3 separate regions of the Homo sapiens genome follow, and all the other regions are linked to region 3. Evidence: promoter capture Hi-C in 16 types of primary human blood cells and fetal thymus (Javierre and others, 2016). All regions are on one chromosome and are shown on one strand. Each heading gives the region's core, a stretch centred on a gene start or on the middle of the fragment in contact. The rest is flanking DNA. Distances are from core to core; before and after follow the strand shown. Region 1 overlaps SYT9 (synaptotagmin 9). Region 2 overlaps SYT9 (synaptotagmin 9). Region 3 holds the start of OVCH2 (ovochymase 2).

The links. Contacts are between HindIII fragments. The CHiCAGO score rates a contact against its expected background, and 5 or more counts as called.
Region 1: a fragment that was not itself captured here is called in contact with the fragment with the promoter of OVCH2 in region 3 in 1 of 17 cell types (M1 macrophages); the score reaches 5.0 in M1 macrophages.
Region 2: a contact is called between a fragment that was not itself captured here and the fragment with the promoter of OVCH2 in region 3, in 2 of 17 cell types (M2 macrophages and M1 macrophages). The highest score is 6.5, in M2 macrophages.

Annotation. Positions count from the first base shown.
Region 1 is chr11:7,364,956-7,367,655 of GRCh38, forward strand. All of the region lies in intron 3 of SYT9 (synaptotagmin 9), which reads left to right. Among named protein-coding and RNA genes, the nearest start is that of SYT9-AS1, 100 kb to the right of the region's middle. The HindIII fragment of the contact is 4,159 bases long and covers 1-2,700 here.
Region 2 is chr11:7,344,198-7,346,897 of GRCh38, forward strand. All of the region lies in intron 3 of SYT9 (synaptotagmin 9), which reads left to right. Among named protein-coding and RNA genes, the nearest start is that of SYT9, 94 kb to the left of the region's middle. The HindIII fragment of the contact is 3,004 bases long and covers 1-2,700 here.
Region 3 is chr11:7,705,182-7,707,881 of GRCh38, forward strand. OVCH2 (ovochymase 2) reads right to left here and starts at 1,296. Exons shown (of 16, transcript NM_198185.7): 1 at 1,126-1,296. The coding sequence starts at 1,213. LOC105376533 (a long non-coding RNA gene) reads left to right here. Exons shown (of 11, transcript XR_007062576.1): 7 at 414-474; 8 at 1,044-1,097. The HindIII fragment of the contact is 6,680 bases long and covers 523-2,700 here.

The DNA.
Region 1 (2,700 bases), core at 2-2,501, 340 kb before region 3:
GACTTGCCTCCCAGACAGGTTTTATGGATTGCTAGGGGTCTCAATTTGTGCCCTGATGTGTCTGAGTGAGTGTGATTTTCAGGCATCCAGACCCCTCCTCCCAGGCCCACCCCGCACATATTCTGCCTTCACTTCCTTGCACAGTGAAACGCTCCATTGACTGCAAGGCTTATGAAATGAAAGGCTCTGATAATGGAGTGTAAGCATTTTTGTCTTCATGATTGTGGAAAAAAAAAAGCGATGAAATTACTAAGAAATCCTCAAGATGGGGTGGGGAAATGGGAACAAATGATTCGTTGGGAAAATAAATGCTTCAGTCTAAAAAAATCCAAGATGGAATAAAAGATGTATTCCCCTCCCAATTTATAGAGGAGAGCAATTTTTTGGTATTTTCTCAGCCGAAAGGAAGAAAACCTTAAATTTCTTCTTTTCTGTCTTTATGAGTCTAAACTATTTTTAAGACTTTAGAGTACATCAGGTTCTGATATCGTGTGCATTTTGTTTCTTTAACTGTAGTTGGTATTTTATATGGACTTCTGAGCAAACTGAATTGGAATTCTGCAAGGTCAGGGGACTGTTTCGTTTGTCTTTGCTCACCACGAAGCCTAACACCTCCTGCCATGCCTGACATTGTATAGGTGACAATTTTTAAAAAAATAAATGAATGAATTAGCGAATTAAACTTTCTTCTCAGAGTATTTTCACCAACAGTTTTCACTGGCCTCTGGTTCTCATTACTTTCTCTTTACTGGCATTTTCAGGGGATTTCATACCTGTTTTAATTTTGCTTTTTCTAGTTGCTGTAGTTATTGTTTTAGTTACCAAAAATGACTTAAAATTGTGAAATATGTGAGCAGGATCGGGTCGTATTTACTGTTGAAATGTATCAGGCTTCTCCCTTCCAATCCTGCTCTAGCCACAATCTGTAAGGTCAGTACTATGCCACACTGGTGGCCCTTGGGCCTCTAATTTGGGACACTGATACTGATCTCTGACCCCTGTTCTGCTGATGTACCCTATAGCCTTGTAATTGCCCTTGAAGAAAGTCCTACTTGCTTTGGTTACTTACCCTTCAAGGTACTGAAATGTGACTGTGGCCCAGCTGTCCTCCAGGTGCTCCCATCTGACCACATGACTCTCCAATCCTGGCTCCCATGATTCGTTGCTGCTCAGTCATGAGGACATGTTGACACCTCATCTTGGTCTCTCTATGGCTAGCAATTTCTCTAAGCTCTGACATACCTGGGTTTTGGGCCTTCTTCTGCAAATGGATCACTCTCTCATACAGACTATTATTCTAACCTCCCGAATTCCCAGGTCCTGGCCCCTTTCTACCTATGCAGTCTTAATCTAACAATCTGCTAATATGTTGGTGTATGTACTTGAGGATTTTTTTCAATACTTAGACATAAACATAACTATGCACACTTATTTTCGATAAACCTGAGGTCACTCTATGCATACTTCTTTGTAATCTGATGTTTTTCTCTTAATAAAACTCTTAATAGAGTTAATTAATAGACATCCACACTAATTAATGGACATCCACATCTATTATAGACATCCATATTAATTAATAGACATCCACATTAATTAATAGACATCCACATCTTCATTTTAACTCATAATCCTCCTGGTTATTATTATTCCATTTCATGTTTATTACTATTACATATTTTAACCAATCCTCTGGTGATTAATAATTGAGTTGCTACAGTTTTTGGCTTTATGCTGTGATATAAATCCACATATATATATTTTTTACATTGTCCAATTATTTCCTCAAGTCCTAGAAATAGAAATTTGGGGCCAAATGTTATATATATTTTATAGCTTCTGATCATATATTGATACAACTGGTCTAGGTTTACTATTGTATAGTTCCACAAATTGTGTTCAAGTGCCAGATTCAATTCTCCCTCATAAACATTTATTATTATTATTGAATTAGCTTTAATATATTATAAATTTTTGTGAATAAATATACACATAGTAAACTTATGACTTATAGATATTATACCTGATTCTCGTGGATATTCCATGCTCTGGTGTATACGAAGGTATAAAGAAGACAGCAAATGCCCTCTTATCATTACCCTTCTTTCCAGGAGACCATCTTTTTTTTTTTTTTTTTTTTTTTTTTCGAGACGGAGCCTCGCTCTGTCACCCAGGCTGGAGTGCAGTGGCGCAATCTCGGCTCACTGCAAGCTCCGCCTCCCGGGTTCACGCCATTCTCCTGCCTCAGCCTCCCGAGTAGCTGGAACTACAGGCGCCCGCCACTACGCCCGGCTAATTTTTTTTTTTTTTTTTGGTATTTTTAGTAGAGACGGGGTTTCACCGTGGTCTCGATCTCCTGACCTCGTGATCCGCCCTCCTCGGCCTCCCAGAGTGCTGGGATTAGAGGCGTGAGCCACCGCGCCCGGCCTTCCAGGAGACCATCTTTATAGCTGCTTTCATTTTTGCTTTAGTTGTTATAGTTATCCTGTTATTTAGTGTAGACCTCCAAGGTTTTTTTCTGTTATCATAATTTCATTGCTTGCTAATGTAATAGACGAAATATGGCATGGTGATTTTGACATGATTTGTGTTTATTATAACATTAATGCAGTTAAACATCTTTTTGTAAGTTTATTTAAGCCATTTCCTTTTCTTCTTTTGTGACTTGCCTGCTTCTTTTTTACTCATTTTTGTATTGGGGTT
Region 2 (2,700 bases), core at 174-2,673, 360 kb before region 3:
AGGCATGCAGCCCAGTTCCCCTAGTCTCTCTTCCTAAATCCCCCATCTTTTTTTTTCGTTTTTATTATTGAGTTGTGAGAGCTTTTAAAATATTCTGGATGCCAGTCCTTTATCAAATATATGGTATGTGAATATTTTCTCCCAAGCTATGGCTTTTTATTCTCTTAACACTTTCTTTTGAAAGAGAGACATTCTTAATTCTGCTCAAGTCCATTTACTCAATTTCATCTTTTATAGGGTATGTTTTCAGTGGCGTGTCAAAGAAGTCCTGGCCTAATCCAAATTTATACAGTATTTTTTTTTACTGTTTTACTCTAGAAGTTCTATCATTTTAGCTCTTGCATTTATAACTACAATCCATTTTGAGTTAATTTTTATGTATAGTATGATATGGTTTGAAGTTCTTTCTTGTGAATGCATATGTGTGTGTATACTATAAAGTTGTTCCAGCACCATTTGTTGAAAAGTCTATATTTTATCCACACAATTGTCTTTTGCACCTTTGAAGAAAATAATTGATCATATATATGAGTCTATTCTGGACTCTCTATTCTTTTCCATCGCTCTATTTGTCTAGCTTTACTCCAATATCACAGTGTCTTGATTGCAGATTTATAAATCTTGAAATCAAATAGTGTAAGTGCTGCAACTTTACCCTACTTTGTCAAAGTTGTTTTAGTTATCTAGGTCTTTTGCATTTCCATATGAATTTTATAATCAGCTCATTATTTTACACACACACACACACACACACACACACACACACTTGAATTTTTATTGGGGTTGCATTAAATATAGAATCACTTTCTATTATTTGGAAATAATAGGAATCTTAAAAATAGTGAGTCTTCCCATCACAAACAGTGTATCTCTCTCCATTTAGTACATCGTCTTTACCTTCCCTCAGCAATATTTTCTAAGACAGGTCTCTCGAGCTCTCTCATTGTTTATCGTTCTCTTCTCTGGTACTCTACCCTGCAAATTCTAGGGGGGATGGCCTCTCCAGACTCCCAAGTCCGTTTCCTCAACTGAGGGAGCCCACTAGGCTCTGCCTGGGTTTTCACCTGTCTGTACTGTGTCTCTGAAACTTTCTCCAGGTGGTGACATGGGCAGTTTTAGTTCTTGCCTCATTTGTTTCCTGTCACTCAAGGATCACATATCTTCATTACCTGATGTCCAATCATTGTTTCATATATTTTGTCCAGATTTTTAGTTGTTTAAAATGTGAGAGTAAATTCATTTCCTGCCTCTCTGTCATTGTCAGAAGTGATTGATTTTATGTGAGAATTGAAGAAAGAGAGTGGTCAAAGATGGATGATTTTCTGGTTTTCAGCATGAGCAAACTCCAGATGTTGGTATTTACTGAGATGGGAAATATTAGGTGAAGAATAGGCTGTATTCTGGTATAAGTAAGATCATGTGTTCCATTTTTAACATATTCAGTTTGTGCTACCTGTGAGACATTCAAGTATAAAAAAATCAAAAAACAGTTGTATAGACTAGGCTGGAGCTCAGAAGCAGGGCCTGAGTTGGAAATATGAATTAACAAATTGTCAACATATCCTGTTTATGGTATTTGAAAAATAGATGTTGACAAAGGTCTTTACTAGCAGAATGTAGAGTGATAAAAGAGGAGGACAGAGGTCCAGTTTTTGAAGAATACTAATGTTTAGACTTCAGATGGAAAAGAAGACCTTAATCTGAGCAGAGAGAGCCAAAGAGGTAAAAGGAAAACTGGTTGATTGTATCATGGAAGTCACTAGAAGAATGTTTCAAGGAACCAAGAGTGGTCAGAGTCACTCTGACTGAGAGAGTGACAAAGCTACATTGAAGTTGATGAAGAAAGGACTGAAAAGAACCCACTGGATTATGTGACGGCAAAGTCATTGGTGGCTTTAGTAAGGGAACTTTCCATAGAGCAGTAAGGACCAAAGCCAGAACAGAGTAGACTGGAAAGCAAATGACAGGAACAGGAGGCAGCATGTTTAAATAGCTCCGTGGCACATTTGGCTGCAAAAGGGAAGAGGAGGACTGAAATTGGGAAGGAATTTTTCAAAATGGGAGAAAACAGATTATTTAAATACTGACAGCTAAGAGCCAGTAGTGGGGAAGCCTGGAGATGCAAGAAAGAGAGGATGAGCAGCAGAGGGGGTTCCTGTGGCTGAGACCCCATCGGATGGCACGAATGGATGGGACCCAGAACAGAGTTGGCGGATTTGCTTTTGATAAAACTCTTCTTCCCATGTTGCAGTGGGAGGGAGAGGCCAATGCAAGTGCAAATACATTTATGAATCCAAAGGTAAGAAGTCAAGTGTAGCCCTTCTGATGTCTCTGTCTTCTCTGGGAGGGAAGAAACAGGGCTGTGTACTGAGCATATGGAAGAGCCTCTGCCTTCAGGGAGCTTGTGGTCTTTTGGCGTGTACTGCTCTGATGATTTCTTTTATAGTAACTACAAAATCAGTCTCACTTCAACTTGCGTCCCTTTTAAATTTTAAAATGTTTTACTTTTCAAAAATAATTTGCTGGATTTTCCTTGATTATGTAATCTGTCTGCTCAATACAGAAAACTTGAATGAAAACAGAAGAGTAGATAATTCTGATACAAAGTCACCTATAGTCCCTCTGCCCTAAAGTAACCACTGTTAAAGTTTGATATATCTTTCCTGTATAATCTCTGTCCATGGTTCTTCACTTGCAATT
Region 3 (2,700 bases), core at 46-2,545:
TTCTTATTCCTCAGCTTGGAGATCACCTCAACCAGGAAGTCTTCCTTGATTTCCTCAAAGTGGGATTGCCTCTCCCTTGTGTTGTGTAGCACGCTTTCTTCACCCCTTTTATAGTTCTTGTCATGCAGAATTGTGATAATGAATTATTTGCCTCTATCATCGGACTATGAACTACTCAAGGGAAAAAACTTGCCTTATTCACCTCTGCATTTCTAAGGTTTAGCTTAATTCTTGGCATAAGTAAGCACTTAGAAACACTGGATGGACAAACAAATGACTTTTCTTGAGAACACATCCTTAAGAGTATAGCTATTTAGATCAACATGTTAAAATATTCAAAGCTCTTTCATACAGCTTCTCATTTAATCCCACTCTATGCCTATAAATGAAGCACTGTTATCCCCACATTGCAGATGAGAAAACTGAGAATCAAGGAGACACACAGCTGGATAATGGCAGAGCATGAATGTAACAGTAAGTGTTTTGATCCTGAACCCAGTGCCAGGATGACATTGGAACAAAAGCTTATTTTCTAACTGTTTCAGTTGAATGAGTCATAAATACTTTAAATACAAAATTTACTATTTCCCAAATTCAGTAAAGCAAAGTCAGAAAACATGTTGATTCTCAGGGTTGGCACAAGTCTGACCAAGGAGAAATCTTCCAAGAACTGTTTTCAGCTTAAGTTAGTTGAAGGGGAAAAAAGACCATTTATAATATACTACAGTGAACATGCTTCATATTTCTCAGCAAGATGATTTTGTAAAAGATTAAAAATGCTTCCAAATCCATGCTGATTTCCAGAATTTGCTCTATGAACCAAGATGGGATTATGTAATGGGTTCAAGTAAGTGAACAATCTCAGTTCACTTAGGAAAACTAAGCGAAGAAAACAGGGATTGTTTACTTAATTGGATACATTAGTTGCATTCTATAAATGTTTCACCCTGTGTCCTATGCCGATTGCAGGAGATAAGTCCAAAATAATTGTTTAAAAACAATTAGATATCCAAAATATATTTGCTTCTCCTATTTTCCCAAAGGAACATGGAGTCTCGGAGTTGTGACGTCCATTGCCAGCAAAGGTTCAGACAAAGGTAATTATAGAGTTCATTTGAAACTTACCTTTGGGGAGCGAAAGAGTTGCAGATTTACCTCGTTCAAAAAAGACTATTCCTAGTAGTAAAATCAGCTTGTTCCTGCTTATAAGCATTTTGAGACTCATAGTTTTTCCCTGAAATTTTAGAGAGACTAAAGCAAACAAAAATAGGAAGCCTTGAGAGACCAGCAATAAGCCAATTTAAAACAAGTTTATTCATTAACCAAGACGTGGTGAATCAAGCATGTCCATCTGATGTTTCTGAATGTAGTGTTTCGCAAAGATCTTTTGGAAGATGTGGAGAAACAACCACAGAAGCAGAGTCTTGATCAAGCAATATTACATATCCTATTACACCTACACCAATTAGTTGATTCCTCCAGAGTGTATCTGGCTAGCAAAGTGGTTAGCATGTAAGATTTGCATCTGCAAACATTACTTGCTCCTTTGTAGAGCTTACCACTTTTACCACTTTCTATAAGAAGATTGACTATCAATGTTGTCCTTGTTTGCAAGGGTACACTTCCCTACTTTTTTGCAAACGACCCATCCAAATGTATATAATTTTTTTGGGCAGAGATGGAGTTTCATCATGTTGCCCAGGCTGATCTCAAACTCCTGGGCTCAAGGGATCTGCCTGCCTTGCCCTCCCAAAGGTCTGGGATTACAAGTGTGAGCCACCACGCCCAGCCAATATTCTAAAATATTTTTATTTATCTTATTTTGCAAATGTAACTACATGGTTATTATAAACATATGTTGGTGAATGAGAGAAGTGGAAAGATATTTGGGTGTCACACTCAGGAAGCCCTGCTGTTAGAAAGTCATCTAGGATACTGTACATTGGGGCATTTGTGACTCTGCATTCTCCTATCATTTTTGTATTTATAGAAGGGAAACACTAAATCTCCTTTACTTCTATGCCTGGTAGATGCTTGGGAGAGTAAAGTGGCTATGATTACCTGTACATTTTCCTCTTTCCTCAACGAGTTTTGGGCACATGGTCAGTGTGTGAGAAATATTTATAGGATGGTCAATGCCATCTATGACCAGATAGAAATATAACATTTTTCTGTCAACTTTTATAAGTTACCCACTAAAAATAACAAATGTCAGCCCAAAAGCTCTTAATTTCCTTTTGGCAACTTTTGTCTTTGTACAAAAAAGTATGAAAATACAACACATACAAATAATATAAATGCAAAACAGAGAAGGTGTAAAAACTTAACATTTGTAAGCACTACATATTTAGGTACACTAATCAAGAATGTAGCCTTATGGAAAGAAGGAAACTCAAACCTCTATTGAGGCTTTATCTATAACTACTGTAATCCTGATGCCAAACATTTTTGGCTATTGGTATGGAGTGATAGCCCCAAGAGGTAATCAATCAATGTCTAAGCCCTAATCAAAGTCTCAATCTTTCTTTGACAGCAAGCTCCCTTTAAATTGCTATTGTGTTTTATCAATCACTTTTGAGAGCAACTTGACTAGGAATATGGCCTTTCTGACCCCAAATTCACTACATTCTGTCTAAAATGTGTATACTGTTAATGTCAAAAGTGCAGAAAGACCTAGTGTGGGCCTAGGATGCACTAAAC